Regions from separate parts of the Homo sapiens genome. Here region 1 is linked to region 2. Evidence: promoter capture Hi-C in 16 types of primary human blood cells and fetal thymus (Javierre and others, 2016). All regions are on one chromosome and are shown on one strand. Each heading gives the region's core, a stretch centred on a gene start or on the middle of the fragment in contact. The rest is flanking DNA. Distances are from core to core; before and after follow the strand shown.

Region 1 (7,129 bases), core at 2,155-4,654, 330 kb after region 2:
GTGGGGTTAAGGAAGGTTTTAATTTTGTTGTTGTTGTTGTTAATTTTTTAATTTGAGAGATACTAGACAGAACAGTGATCAAGTAGAAATTGGGGGTGCAGTTTTCTCATTGGACTTCTCTTTATTTACCTCCCTTTAGATGTCAGTGTGCCCCAGAGATCCATCCATGAGCTCTGTTCTTCTTATTCTACCCATCCTCCCTAGACAGCCTTATCCATGCTCATGATCGACTGTCACCTACATTTAGTGGCTCTGTTATCGCTTCTCCCCCATGAACTGCAGACCCGCAGTCTACCTGCCAGGGGCCATGTCAACTTAGAAGTCCCACAGCAACCTCAAACTCCGTATGCCCCAAACCAAACCTCCCTTCTTCCTGGTCCTACCCCTATAGCACATTCATGAATTCTGTCTACTTGTTCAGACCAGCAATGTGGGCATCATTTTGAGCTCCTCTTTCTCCTTTAGTCTTTACATCCAGTCAGTCACTAAGCTGCTGGTTGGTTTGTGGGCACATTTAGAATTGTGCACCACCTCCATCTTCACTGATTTATTTAAATTCTCACTTGGACTGTTGGGAGCATTGTGGATTAGCTAGCAGAAGACTCACATCCACCCCCTTCTCCCAGGCTGGCCTCTATTAGAGAGGACAAGACAGGCTTTCTTACAGCCAGAGATGGCTTGTGACGTAATTCTGGTCAATGAGACAGAAAAGAAAGTCTGTTCAGAAGTTTCTGGGAAAGACTTTGCTTTCTTATTTAAAAAGACAGATATGGATGCTCCCAGTATTTTTTCCCTTCTTAATCCTTTGAATGCCAGCAATATGACTGGAGCCACCATCTCGCAATTGCAGAAGGAAGGCAAAGAGAATTCCTGTGCCTCTGCCCTGAACAATGCCCATAGCCACCTACCCTCATATTTCCCAGTATGGGAGAAAAAGATAAATCCCCTTTTATTTAAGCCACAGAGGGTTCTGTTACTTGCAGCCAAAAGCATCTTTGACTGATAAAGGCTTCTAGCTCGTTTCTTTGTTGTAGTATCATTGCAGTATGTTCCATTATCCACAGCCTTGGCCAGAGCCTTTACAAAATGCAATTTTGACCTTGCTACTTCCCTGCTTTAAATCTCCCATTGACTCTCCACTGCTCACAGGATAGAGATCAGACTGTTTTGCATGGCACATAGGCCCTCCACAGTCTCCTGTTGCCTGCTCCTCTGGCCTCATCCCTGGGCACTGTACATCACAGACAGTTCTCCAGATACACCACACTTCTTTGTGCTTTCTTGGCACATGCTGTTTCCTCTGTCTGGAACACCTCTTCTTTCCAGGTCTTTCCCCTCCTCTCTTAGATCCCTACCCTCTATGGTTCTATATCTTTATATCTTGAATATAATCATACCTTATTGTCTCTCTTGCTAGACTATGAGCTCCTTCATTTTCTGGGTATGTCTTATTTATCTTTGTTTTCCTAATATTGGATAGAGGGTTTGAACTCAGGAAACTGAGAAACGAATGAGTGTGCTGAACCAGGGGCCGTGATTCTGTCTCTAGTTTTACTTATTGTAACCCCATGAGCTCTCTGAAACTCATGTTCCTCATGTGTAAAACATGGGTAATTCTATCTTTGTTGTTTGCGGTGTCAGTGAAATTGTTTTTATATGGCAGATTTGTAATAGCAAAACAGCACTGGCCTTGCTGAGAGGTCAACCCAAGTTCAAATCCATGACTCCAATAATTACTAACTTATGAACTTGGGCAAGTTGAGTAAACTGTCTGTGTCTTGGTTCCCTAATTGACAGAGAGTTAGATAGAAATGTGTGGGGCTGTTATGAAGCTTACTTGAGATACTGAACATGAGAATTCTTGGTTCTAAGAGGGACTCAATAAATGTTTAGTTGAAGTGGACATGAAAAGAGGGGATCTTCAGTCTTGATAAGATCCTACTTGGGATGCCCAGTTCCTGGACAAGAGCTGTGGTCCCCATGCTGCTGGGCAGCCAAAGCCCAAACCTGTGCCTGCCTCCTTTCACTGTGCAGACAGTAGGCACCATGCCAGCAGCTCCATGCAGAGCTGCACTGGGTCTCCGTCCCTAGGTTGGAGGAATAAGAAGAGTCACGACCATCTGCACAGCACTGAAAAGATTTCCTGATGCGTCCATAAATATATATCTCATGTACGTCTTGAGCATTCAGCAAAGGCTTCTCAGAAAATCTGAAATTTAATCTGAGACTTAAAGGATGAGAAGGAACTAGCTATGTAAAGATGAGGAGCGGAGAACTCCAGCAGAAGGAACAGCCAAGGTAGAGTCTCAGAGCTGGGACCAGCTTGATGCTTTTAATAAGAGAACATGAAGACAGATCCTTCAGGAGCCCCTGCCTAAAGGACGGGGGCAGGAGAGTCACTCAAAGAGGAGATGACAAATATTTCCTCAGATCCAAGCAACTGAACAGAGCCAGGAACTAATCCAAAGGAGGCCTTCACAGAGTCCTGCCTACCCACTAAAGCAGAGTGTGGCAGGGTTGGTGTGAGCTGGAGGAGGTGTTGATGTTGCAAGTCAACTTGTGCTGTAGCCTCAGTCCTACTTTCAGGCATGAAGGCCCAGGAGGTAGAGAGCGCTGTACTCTCAACATGTCCAAACACAGACCCATGCAGGGGACCCCCAGATCTGAGCCTCTCGCCATGGTCTATGTCTCAGTGAGTGGTATTAGTATCCATCCAATCACGAAGGAATGAAACCAAAACATGACTCATGACCTCACCCTCTTCCTCACCCTCAGTAATAGGTCCACCAAATCATGTCAGTGATGAACATCTTCAAACCTTCTTTCTTTTCTTCTTTCTGCCACCACCACAGCTGCACAGTGCCACACTGCCTCCCTCCCAGACTACAGCAGTAGCTTTCTAACTGTTCCCTTCACACCCATCCCAGCCTGTCTCAGTCCCCTCCCAACCCAGCCACCAGAATGATCTTTCCATCTGTAGAGATGTACAGAGTTTGGCGCAGCAACTCTCTTCACGTAAGAGGAATTTTTTGAAAAGTCTCTGGGGGTTGACGCTTAGATCCTAAGAGCCCTCAAGTGTCGGGTGGAGGTGAGAAGGATTTGCTGGTTGTGCTATAAGTTGGAAAAGAAAAAGAAAGGGTGGAAGGGGAGGTGATGTGAGGCCATGTGGTTGTGATAGGTCCCCCAGCATCCCCCACACTGACCTTCAGTAAAAAACTCAGAAAATAACAAAATGCTTAACGAAACCTGATTTCCCATGGGAATCAGTGAAAGGCCTGGGCTTTGGGTCTAGACCAATAGTGAGCGGAGACAGAGACAGTGGCTTAGGGATGGCAGAGTGTGGATTGGGAAGGAGGCAGGTGTGGGGAGGCTCCGAAGCAGCACACACAGATGCAGATAGGACAGAACTGTAGGAGGCTCTTAAAACTGGAGGAGGGCTTTGACTGTTTCAGTTCTGAGGAATCTAGGTGCAGGCCAAGATTAACCAGTCCTGATGGGGGTCCCAGTTGGCATCTGAATTACACGTCTATATGATAATAATATGAATAGACACCATTTATTCAGCAGTGTGCTATGGTTTTTTTTATATGTAGTATCTCATTTGATTCTATTTTCATAAAAACTGCAAGGGGTAAGTATTATTATTGCCTTACTTTACGAGGTTCCATCCTGTTATAATCTAAGTTCGTTTTCTCTCCATTTTTAAGATAAACAATAACTGTAGGGCGGCATAAAGTTCCCTGAACCACACAACAAAGAAAGTTAAAAGATGCAAAAGGTAATCACCGAAAAGGAAACTGAAGTGCAGAGACCCTGGCAGCCTGGCTCCTGAGCCTATGCTCTTGGCCACTGTATGTTCTCAATCTCTCTTCCCTCCCCTCCTCTTCCCTCCTTTCTTATCTTCTTCCATCTATCCACTCATCCATCCATCCATCCATCAAGCCTCCATCCATCTATCCAACTATATTTCTGACCATATCTCTCTCTATATATACATAGTTGGAGGTAGATATAGATATAGATATAGATATAGATATAGATATAGATATAGCTATCTAAGTTGACATGCCAGAGGCCATGTCAGCTTAGAAGTCCCACAGCAACCTCAAACTCAGTATGCCCCAAACCGAACCTCCCGTCTTCCTGGTCCTACATGTATATATATATACATATATATATATGTGTGTGTGTTTATTTCTGACCATAGATATAGATAGGTAGATAGAAAGAAAGGAAGAAACATATGTATCTCCAACTATAGAGATAATTCCTCTTTAGGTGGGAGGTTGAATTACAGAACCTAAAAGTTTCCTTTCCGTTCTCAAGTTCTCTGAGGTTTAGTTTATTTTAGACTATATTTTGATTATTTTTGGCAGGTGTTTATCTTCCTAACTTGTTTGGATTTACCGAAACATACATTTCAGGGCTAGCATGGATCTAGGAGAAAGACCAAGTCCCTCATGTTGAGAGTGAGAAGAAGTGACCCACTAAATCTCACCTGGTCCAGGCCTCTGCCTGTTTCACATTATTTTGAATTCTGGATACGTGGCAAGTGGTGATAAGGACAACAATCCAACTAGGTAATGAGTAAGAGAGAGTGACAGCCTGGAATTAGAGTGTAATCTGTTTTTACCACATGTGTATGCTAACAGTCAGTGATGATTGTGACAGTGGTCATGACTCCAGCAATTCACAGGTCCCTACACCTGAAGAGATTTAGAGACCTCATCCAATGTACTTCTTGCCTCCTGATAACTAATGCCTGATTCATTCCAGAGATGAACAAATTTAAAAGAACGTGCTATTTAAAATAAAAAAAAGGAATTTTAAAACCTTTTCTAGCTTTTATTTCTTTCTGAGGAGTTCCCTCCTGTTATATGCTTATTTTTTTTACCTTCATTTTAAAAATAAATAACTGTAGAACAGCATATAGTTCTCTGAACCACACAGCAAAAGAAAGTAAAAGGAAGCAAAAAGAAGCTTGCTCTATGGTCATGGGCAGTAAGAGACTGATGATACAGGAGAAGTTGGATTTGAGGATATGAAAGCTGGAAACAGCTGGTTCAGGCTGCACCGGAACACACACATTACACCCATGCCAATTGCTGTCTTTTCAAACTCCAGGAAGCCTGGCATGGGTGAAGCTGAGTCACGTGGAGGCTGTGCCGAAGCCTGGTTGTGCCGTAAGTTTTGTGTGCAGCAGGCTCTATCTTTCTCTCAGAAGTGAGTTGGGTGAGCCCTTGGTATCCAACCCTCCCTACAGTCACCTCCTTTGAGAAGAAAAAAATAAGACCCAGAAGGTAGTATTATCATTTATTGAGTAGCTACACTGTGGCCAGAACTAAGCTTTACATGTTTTATATCACTTATTTATCTCAACAATCTTGAAAGGGTGGTATTATTTTCCCCGTCTTATAGGTGAAGACTCTGAGGTTCAGAAAGTTAAAGTGATATCGCCAGGGTTCCTGACTGGTAAGTGATGGAGGCTGAATTTGAGCCAGATCTATATGCTCCATCATCACTCTCCTGGGGAAAAGAGCCTAGATGTGTTCTATCTGCATTCCTGCTTAGATTCTGCATGACTTCTCCTGTCCATCCCCTTGGCCCCCTCTCCTCTAGTCCATGAGATTACAGCTTTGCACACTGACAGGAGGGTCCTTCCTTCTTAGCCTACACATACAACCAGGTGTCAAAGGATGGAAGGGTTCATCTCACACACTCACAGACCATGTAGACTATTCAATCTACACCTCCAGCTCGAACTCAGAACATTGACAGGAACCTGCTCTTCAATCTTTCACCTCCCCTTTCTCCATGAAACGAACGTCAACATTCACACAGCAGCCCATCCCCAGCCTACAGGGCGGCCCCTGCCAGATCATGCTTCCCACTGTGGAAGAAGGCATGTACGAGTGAGTGGGCTCATCGGTTGACCTCTGTGTGAGATGGCACGTGGTCCTACCCTGCAGAGTCAGAGCACAGAATTCCAAGTGTAGCACAGGTGTGGCAATTCAGAAGAGCAGCTGTCAACACATCTGAGGGCACAGACCCCCCTATCATGCCAGGCTGGGAGAGGCCACTCCTGTATTTGGCAGGTGGCTTGTGCCCAGTGGCATCAAGGCTATGGCAGGGTATAGCAGAGATCTAAGGCCAAGTGGAAGTAGAGCTGTCGCTTTGATTTTGAAAATCAAATGAATGGCCTTTACAAACTTCCACCCACAATTCTTTGAAAAGGGATGAGTAACTCTGACCCTACTCTTACCTCCCTCCCCATCAATTCAAGCTGAATTAAGAGAAATCCTATGTGGATACACAGATACAATGACCTCAGCTCTGTCTAGCACCACTTTCAGGGAGGCGGATGTCCTCACTGGGCCCTCTTGCATCTCTTCAAAATGGGAATGACCAAGTTTGGATTTATTATTCTATTCTTGAATCCCAAAGACCATCCTAAGAGCAAAATATGCTCCTTGAAGGATGAGGATGTGGAGAAGCACGGTATCTTTAAAAAACAAGGGAAGGGAGTCTCAGATTAAGAAAACTGGAGAAATGGGCATGTCAGTAGGATGAGGATGCCTAGTGGCAGGTGCAGGATGTCTGTGACTTTGTCGTGTGTGGGAGAAATGACCTTTCTCAGGATGTGGGAATATAATAGGCTGTACTCCTGATGACCTTGACCATCCTAATCACACTTGTGTGATGCCAGGGCCCCAGGTTCCACCCAAGTTTTACTTTATAGCTATTCCCAAGTTTCCCTATTAATCAAGAAAATTAATGAATAAGGAATAAGGTGATCATTCTTCAGGTTATGGGTTGAAATAGACACAGAAATCAACTCAGCTGAATATAGCATGTGGAATCAGTCCTCCAGAAGGCAGCTTTCTCTCTTTCTGGGGGTGTATAATAAGACATAACTTGGCCGGTTGTGGGAGTCCTCATCAGCCGTGACAGACCAAGTCCTCACCCATGGCCAGGAATGAGGCACAGGCTTTTGGATGTGCGTGTATGAGCAAACGTACACAGAAACCGCCACACCCACACCTCACATACCATGACAGGGTGGAGTATTTGTTGTCCTTATGTTAACCTTGTCACCGTTTTCAGAAATTCTGGGCTTTGATGGTGCTGC
Region 2 (7,409 bases), core at 12-2,511:
TCCCACCCCTCACTCCTCCCCCTCATTCCTGCCTCCACAAGCATCTTCTGGGAAAGGTGAATGAGGGAAGAGACATTTGCACTTGTCCCTTACCTACCTAAGTTCTATCCCCAGTGGCCACTTCTGGGGGTGTTGTCTTCTCTCTGGAGTTTTGGGGGACCTATTAGGGGGCATGTGTGGCCATAGGTCAAGCCTCATTCTCTAACTGGCCTTACCAAGACTTAAGCTGAGGTTTTGTGTTCACCTGTCTGGGTTGCTTGCCATTTCTCAAATGTTCTGCCAGTCAGAGGTGGGAGGAGGTCGGCAGGAATGTACTTGGTCATCTCGAACCCCATCAGAATGTGTGTGGAGGCCTCCTGGCAGCTTCTATGCAGGGTCCAGCTAGATCCCTGGGCTTTTCCTGAGATACACGGGGCTAACCCACTTCTTACGGATTAATTTTTCCACATCGGAAATCAGAAGCCATTCCCCAGGGCCTCCCCTTCAGTTTCATTATCTCCTTTGACTCTGCCCACAACCTTTGAAAAGGTCTCGCTGTTCTTCCCACGGAGAGAGAGGTGCAAGGCTTGCTCAGCCTCACACAGCCAATCCGTGGCAAAGGATGGCGGGAATTCAGGTGGCCCCAATCTCAACCCATCCTCTTCCCACCCTGTATCCTTTTTAGTTTATTTACAGGAAAACATGTTCAAAGGTATAATTACTAAAGTGCTCCTGGTTACACAATAATACGTCTTTACTGAAAAACAATAAATTAATGAGAAAAGAGATGCAAAAAACCTCAGAGGAAAATGTTGAAGTTAGGGAAATATTTAATACGCCCGCCTTTGGCTCACACCTTTTCCTGGGATGAATGACCCCTGTGATTCCAGCTCCCCCCCACCCCCACGAGGTCTCATCTAGCTGGATACCTACAAGCCATCCCTGTCCTTGGAAATACACCCCTCTCCCAATTCGCTGCCGCTAAGAAGCCCAGACAATTGGAGAGGAGTGGATTTTCCATCTGAATTATGCAGCTCCTTTGACACGCCTCCCCTCTCCCTTTGCATAGCCTTGGTTAAGAACTAGCATTTCTTCGTCCCCTCTCCCTGTCCCCTCTCACTGTCCGCGAGGCAGCAGCCCCCAGCCTACTCCGCGATCCTCCCAGCTCCCGGCACCGCGCGTCCTCCCCTTTAAGGCCCGCCCCTCCCCCCACGCCACGCCTCCCCAGGCCCCGCCCCCCGCCCCTCCCCTTTAAGGACCGGCCCCGGACGCAGACGAGGCTGTGACGCGGCCGCCGGCCCGGGGCTGGGTACATTGTCGCGCGGCCGCTTCCCCCCGGCCGGGCCCCCGCCGCCCCGCGGTCCCCAGAGCGCCAGGCCCCCGGGGGGAGGGAGGGAGGGCGCCGGGCCGGTGGGAGCCAGCGGCGCGCGGTGGGACCCACGGAGCCCCGCGACCCGCCGAGCCTGGAGCCGGGCCGGGTCGGGGAAGCCGGCTCCAGCCCGGAGCGAACTTCGCAGCCCGTCGGGGGGCGGCGGGGAGGGGGCCCGGAGCCGGAGGAGGGGGCGGCCGCGGGCACCCCCGCCTGTGCCCCGGCGTCCCCGGGCACCATGCTGTCCAACTCCCAGGGCCAGAGCCCGCCGGTGCCGTTCCCCGCCCCGGCCCCGCCGCCGCAGCCCCCCACCCCTGCCCTGCCGCACCCCCCGGCGCAGCCGCCGCCGCCGCCCCCGCAGCAGTTCCCGCAGTTCCACGTCAAGTCCGGCCTGCAGATCAAGAAGAACGCCATCATCGATGACTACAAGGTCACCAGCCAGGTCCTGGGGCTGGGCATCAACGGCAAAGTTTTGCAGATCTTCAACAAGAGGACCCAGGAGAAATTCGCCCTCAAAGTAGGTCTGGGGCCCGGGGAGGGGAGGCGGGGCCGGTCCCGGGCCCTGGAGCTCCACGGCGTCGGGTGCCCGTCCCGGCCTGGGTCGCGGCGCGGGGCGGAGGGGTGGCCGCGGCGGGGCGGGGCGGGGCGGCCGGGCCGGCGGTGCCGAGTGCGGCGCGGGCGGCGGGTCCCAGCGCCCTCGCCTCCCTGACCGCTTCCGGCCGCTCCCGGGCGGGAGCCCTGGGACCCGCTCCTGGGGACTCAGGGGACCCTGCCATTTTGGGGTTTGAGCGGGATCCAGCCGAGTCAGAACGGTTGGCTTCGGGACTTCTGCTAATTTCACTCCATCTCAAGGAAGTGATTTTGGGGTTGGTGGTTCCCCGTCCTCTCCTCCCTCCTTTTTCTCTCTCTGCGGGCACAAAAGGCCCATTACTCATTGAGCCGGTTGGTCGGTTGGTTTGGAGAAGTCGGATCGCAGAGGTTTATTTAGCCTCGCTCCTTATTTGGGAGCCGGAATGTGTGATTTCACTTCCCCGAGCCTCGCGAGGGCAGCCGGGCCGCCTTGGGGCGCGCCGGGCAGGAGGTGTGCGGCGGGAGGGTCCTGGGTGTCCCCCGGCTGCGGGGGCGGGATTATTTGGATCCCGGAGCTGGCCCCCTCAGCTGGCCCCCTCCCACGCCCGCGCGGGGCGGCTCCGGGGAGAGGCCGGCGGTGTCCGCGGCCCGGCTGATCATTGTGAACAGAGTCTGTAACCCGCGGCCGGGCCCGTGCTGATTCCGCCTCCTAGAGAGGGCCACTTGCTGTCCTGGACTCGCGCCGTGATGGGCAGTCTGAGGAAACATTATCCTTGAGCCGGGGGAGCCCATCCCTTTTCTTTCTTTAAGGGGTGTGGTGGTGGGGAGAATAAGGATTCAAGTGAGAATATCGACTTCAGAAGTTAAACACAATGGACTGGGAGGTCTCATGAGATGGGTGGGTCCGCAGTGAAGTGTGAGCCGGTCTTGCAGGGTCACCAACAAGGTTTTCCTCTCACAGGGGTTTCAGGTCAAACCAATCTCTAAAGGTGACGCCTCAGGTCTGTTTCCCCTGGGGTGTCTCAATGATTGGAGGAGGAGAAAAATACTTCCTGTGTTATATTTTTCTCTTCCCCTTCAGCCCCCACAGCGAGCTGTATTTCAGTTGTCAAGTACAAAACTCAGAAATGTGGTATGGGTGGAACTATTGGAATATACGATCAGATGTTTTAAAAGAAACACCAGTACTTCGGGGTTGTACGGGGCAAGCATGTTCCATTTCTAGATTTTAAGGCCTCTAGAATTGTTTTCCTGCTGCTCTCATACTCAACCCTGTTACAGTGCTTTGCTTTCTACTGTAAGTTATTGCTCTGGGATCTCGGTTGTTGTTTAGTGTTGACTGTTGGAGAGGGGATAAGTATCTTCAACACTTCAACATTTGTGTCTTAGACTTCTCTTTCCCTACTCATAACTGAAGGGAAAGGAGGAGGAGGAGTTGTTTGGATTGAGCATGGCTCTGACCTTGGGGACTGGAGTTGGGTGAATACAGTTTGACCACAGTTAACCTGTATCATTGAGGAAGTGACAGACGGTCTTTACAGGAGTGTTTGCTGTCCCCTCTGAGACACCATCTGCCTTCACCCATTAGTAGTTTGGGGACACTGGCTGTTCATTCTCTTGGATATTTGGAATATTATGTAAAGACTTCAGAACAAAAGCTCCCAACTTCTGCTCTGTATTCTGTTTAATAGACACACGCACAAAATCATCCTATAAAATGCTTTTGAGTGGCAATTCAGATTTCTCTTGTAACTAACGAGAGAGAGGTTTACATATTTTTCTACTTTGAATAGTTTTGGAAGGAAAAATCCAGCAGCGTGTTAAATAACACTCATAGTTTATCCCTCTCAGGTTAGAAGTGGGCGAAGAGTGAAGTCAGTCTGTTTTGACAGGCAGCCTGCTCCCAGATCTTTTAAGTTGACTCAACTGTTAAATTGTGGATTTCCCACACACGTCTTTGTGTTAAAACTTAATAATGGAGGAAGAAAGGAGAGACAAGGCATTTGGAGACTGACAGCAGTGTTAACAGCACTTCCATATCCAAATATTGGCTGAGACATAATTACAGCTGTGGGGGGAATCTGGTTCAAAGAACGCTGTTCCAGAGACACACACCAAAGAGATTTCTAGATCTTGAATTTTGATTAACCTCAGGTGCTGAGTAGTGAAATGGTTTTCAAAACCAGAAGTCTAGTGATTATAAAGCAGGAGAGGAAGATGGAGTGGGGCAAGAGGGATTACCCCCTTGGGAAGGTGCCTGAGAAAAGGGGAGGAGACCTCTATTCTACAGTGTGCCGAGGCCAATGCTGGGGGCTAGGGCAGAGCTGGAGGGCAGGAGCCCAGCCTCTGCTGGGGTTCAGAAGTCTGCTATGTTGCAGCCCTGAGAGTTGATGGGAGCTGGCAGCTGCTTAGATGCTCTCCTCTCTGCCTATAGTCGGTGACCTCTTAGCCCTGTTAAGTGAAATCAGCATTTGAAAAAGAGTCCCAGCTCACCCTGCTGCTTCTCTCCCTCCACCTCAGAGAGCTCCCATTTAAATGCTTTTGGTGGGTGCTTTGACCTCACCTCACCATCTCTCCTGGCTGCTTTTGCTAAGTTCTGAGTCATGCTTCCAGTCAGAGTTGCAAGGGACTTGAAAGGTCATTTTGTCCAGCCCCCTTATTTTGCAGAAGAGAAAACCAAGGCCCAGAGTGAGGGAGTGACTTGTTCAAGGTACCATAGCCATTCACTTGGCAGAGGCAGGATTGGAACCCAGGTTGCCTGACTCCCAGTCTCAGGCTTCTTCCCACTTACTTCCTAACTGAGCCACGGGCTCAGGCACATGGCCACCTGCTGCTCCAGGGTGCTTCCAGCCTGAGGAGCTGTTCTGTCACCTCAGGCCCTGACTGACAAGAGGGGAGGTCAGCGAAGGGGGCTGGATGGGTATTTGCTGCTCCTGAGAACAGTCCCCAAAGTTGGAGGGGAACTTCAACAGTAGCTTCATGCATTTTTTTAACCACTCCCTCCCCCTTTTAAGAGAGTATTTGATAGGCACCTTACTTACTATTTTTTGTACAAGAACATGGGAATTCTATTATTTTTATTTTTATTTTTTTTGAGACAGAGTGTTGCTCTGTCGCCCAGGTTAGAGTGCAGTAGCACGATCTTGGCTCACTGCAAGCTCTGCTTCCCAGGTCCACGCCATTCTGCCTCAGCCTCCTGAGTAGCTGGGACTACAGGCGCCCGTCACCATGCCCGGCTAATTTTTTGTATTTTTAGTAGAGATGGGGTTTCACTGTGTTATTCAGGATGGTCTTGATCTCCTGACCTCGTGATCTGCCTGCCTCAGCCTGCCTAAGTGCTGGGATTACAGGTGTGAGCTACCGCGCCCGGCCTGTATTACTTCTTTGATAAGGACACCTAGTCTCAACCCACTTGTGTATTAATTAGTTGTATTCCCCGGGAGGGTTCCTCAGCTGCTTGCCGCTTCACTGTGTCATGGTGACCCTTAGGTGTTAGCTCAACAAATTTAATTAAAGACTGTATCGTTGTTCTCTGCTGTGCAACTCTGATTAGGTGAAGCATGTTACTGCTTTATAAAATATAGAATGTTGTCGTAACTTATCTCTGTGTATCTTTCCATTGCGTGGATTAGAGAAAACAAGGTCCTGTAGTTTCTTTTCCTTTCCTTTCTCCAGCATTCCTCTCTCCCTAGGTCATGGAAGTGCCACTGCGATGTGGCTTCCTTTGTTCTGGTGAAGGGGAGATGATTGGAGCCTCTCATGATTATTCTGGATGCTGTTGGAGGGAAATGCCAGAGCTCCCACATCCCCACAGTACAGGCACCATCTCCTTTCCAACACACCTCATACTGTGTACCTGTGGAGGGCAAGACAGTTAGTGTGGCTAGGTGAGAGGCAGTGTCCCAAACTGGAGTTTGCTGGAGTTGTCACAAGGTTAGGAAAATTTCATTGACCAAGCCAGCCTCTTTTATATGCAATATGGTTACAGGTAGGTAACAGTTTGCTGAATATCTATCATAAGCTTAGTTGCATGGAGGATACACATGTAAAAAATGGCCTGTAAAATTTTGAGTCAAGAAACTTATTTAGAGAAGGTGAAATTAACACATGTAGGCTAGGGCTGCACTGTCCAATCTGGTAGCCACTACCCTCACATAGCTAATTAAATTAAAATTAATTAACATGAATGGATTAAACTAAATTAAATTTGAAAAATCAGTTGCTAGCCACACTTCAAGTGTTCAGTAAACATGTGGCTAATGGCTATCGAATTGAACAATGCAGAAGAACATTTTCATCCTTGCAGAACGTTCTCCTAGACTTTGTTGGTCTGGGAGCTAAATCGTGTGGCTGGGAATAGAGGAGCTTTGAAAGAGGGGAATCTGTGGTGACTCCAGGAGCTAAGGGAGGCTCCAGCTGGGGTCAGTGGGACATGGCTGTGCCTCTGAGGAGTGAGCAAGTCTGTGAGAGGTGTGGTGACATTGGCCTGGCTAGAACTGAGGGGAGGAACAGGAGGTCAGAGTGGTCAGGGGTTGGTGGCTCCAAATTGAAGCTAACTCATCTTGTGTCAAAGCAGGCTTTAAAGTGTTTGAGGGGCATGAAGGTGTCAAAAAAGGTTAGGAATCATTGAAGATGGGCTTACAGAATTATGAGGGAAGGGTCAGGTTTGTGGTTTCAGAGATCCTGTCCCTCCTGGCCGTAGCCCTGACCCCAGCCCTGACCCCTGGCTCCTGCAGCAGGGCCCTTGGCATCCACTGAGGCAAGATTGAAGCTGGGTCAGCTCACTGTCCTTTTTTACTTGTGAATTCTGGGCTTTGACTGAGCTTGGAGACAATCTCCAGCTAAGATACGGGATCAGTGGCTGACAGGAGGGGAGAGACAAGCAGTCCCTGGGCCTTAGGGCCAAATATTGGTGGGTGTCTAGGAAACAAAAGAACCCCTTTGTGGGAGGAGGAAGGTATTGGGACCTGTGATGTTTCTGCTACTTGGGACCTGAGAGGTTGGGCCATCCATAATTGATGATTTTTCTTATGAAGCAGGTACAGGGGATTGGGAGGAGGGCCTGGAAGAGCCCAGCCTCAGAACTGCTGGAGGCAAACTTAATCCTTGGGCTAGGGGAGGGGCCAAAGCTCCTGTTAGCCAGAGCCCAGGAGTGTGCTGAGTGGGTGCCAGGAGGAATGTCAGCCAAGATGGGGAAGAGCAGGGCACAGTCGTCTGCATCTGAGCCATTGCCCAGTTCCCAAGCAGCCTTGCCATGCTCTGAGCTGGGGTTCTTCCTGGTGGCGTGATGTCTGTGGTGCAGGATTCACTCTATTCTCCTACCTTTCCTCTACTTCAGGCCCTGCCAAGTGTCATGTGAGGTCTCTTTTCCCCCTCTTCCCTGCACTGTATCTTTCCAGATGGTTCTGTGTCCTGGAGGGAGGTGGATGGGCAGAGAAGAGTTGTTCTTTGCAGGGACTGCAGCTTTTCTTGGTAATGGTTTGAGGCCCAG

What was found. Contacts are between HindIII fragments. The CHiCAGO score rates a contact against its expected background, and 5 or more counts as called.
Region 1: a fragment that was not itself captured here is called in contact with the fragment with the promoter of MAPKAPK2 in region 2 in 8 of 17 cell types (M2 macrophages, activated CD4 T cells, total CD4 T cells and 5 more); the score reaches 6.6 in M2 macrophages.

What each region holds. Positions count from the first base shown.
Region 1 is chr1:207,013,222-207,020,350 of GRCh38, forward strand. C1orf116 (chromosome 1 open reading frame 116) reads right to left here. Exons shown (of 4, transcript NM_023938.6): 4 at 5,301-7,129. Among named protein-coding and RNA genes, the nearest start is that of C1orf116, 16 kb to the right of the region's middle. RefSeq lists an enhancer at 6,326-7,129. The HindIII fragment of the contact is 3,148 bases long and covers 1,831-4,978 here.
Region 2 is chr1:206,683,644-206,691,052 of GRCh38, forward strand. MAPKAPK2 (MAPK activated protein kinase 2) reads left to right here and starts at 1,262. Exons shown (of 10, transcript NM_032960.4): 1 at 1,262-1,865. The coding sequence starts at 1,587. It overlaps LOC124904495 (a long non-coding RNA gene), which reads right to left and starts at 1,163. Exons shown (of 3, transcript XR_007066833.1): 1 at 98-1,163. RefSeq lists silencers at 1,238-1,417, 1,878-1,927, 1,938-2,027, 2,438-2,527 and enhancers at 3,867-4,428, 4,429-4,990. The HindIII fragment of the contact is 16,303 bases long and covers 1-5,937 here.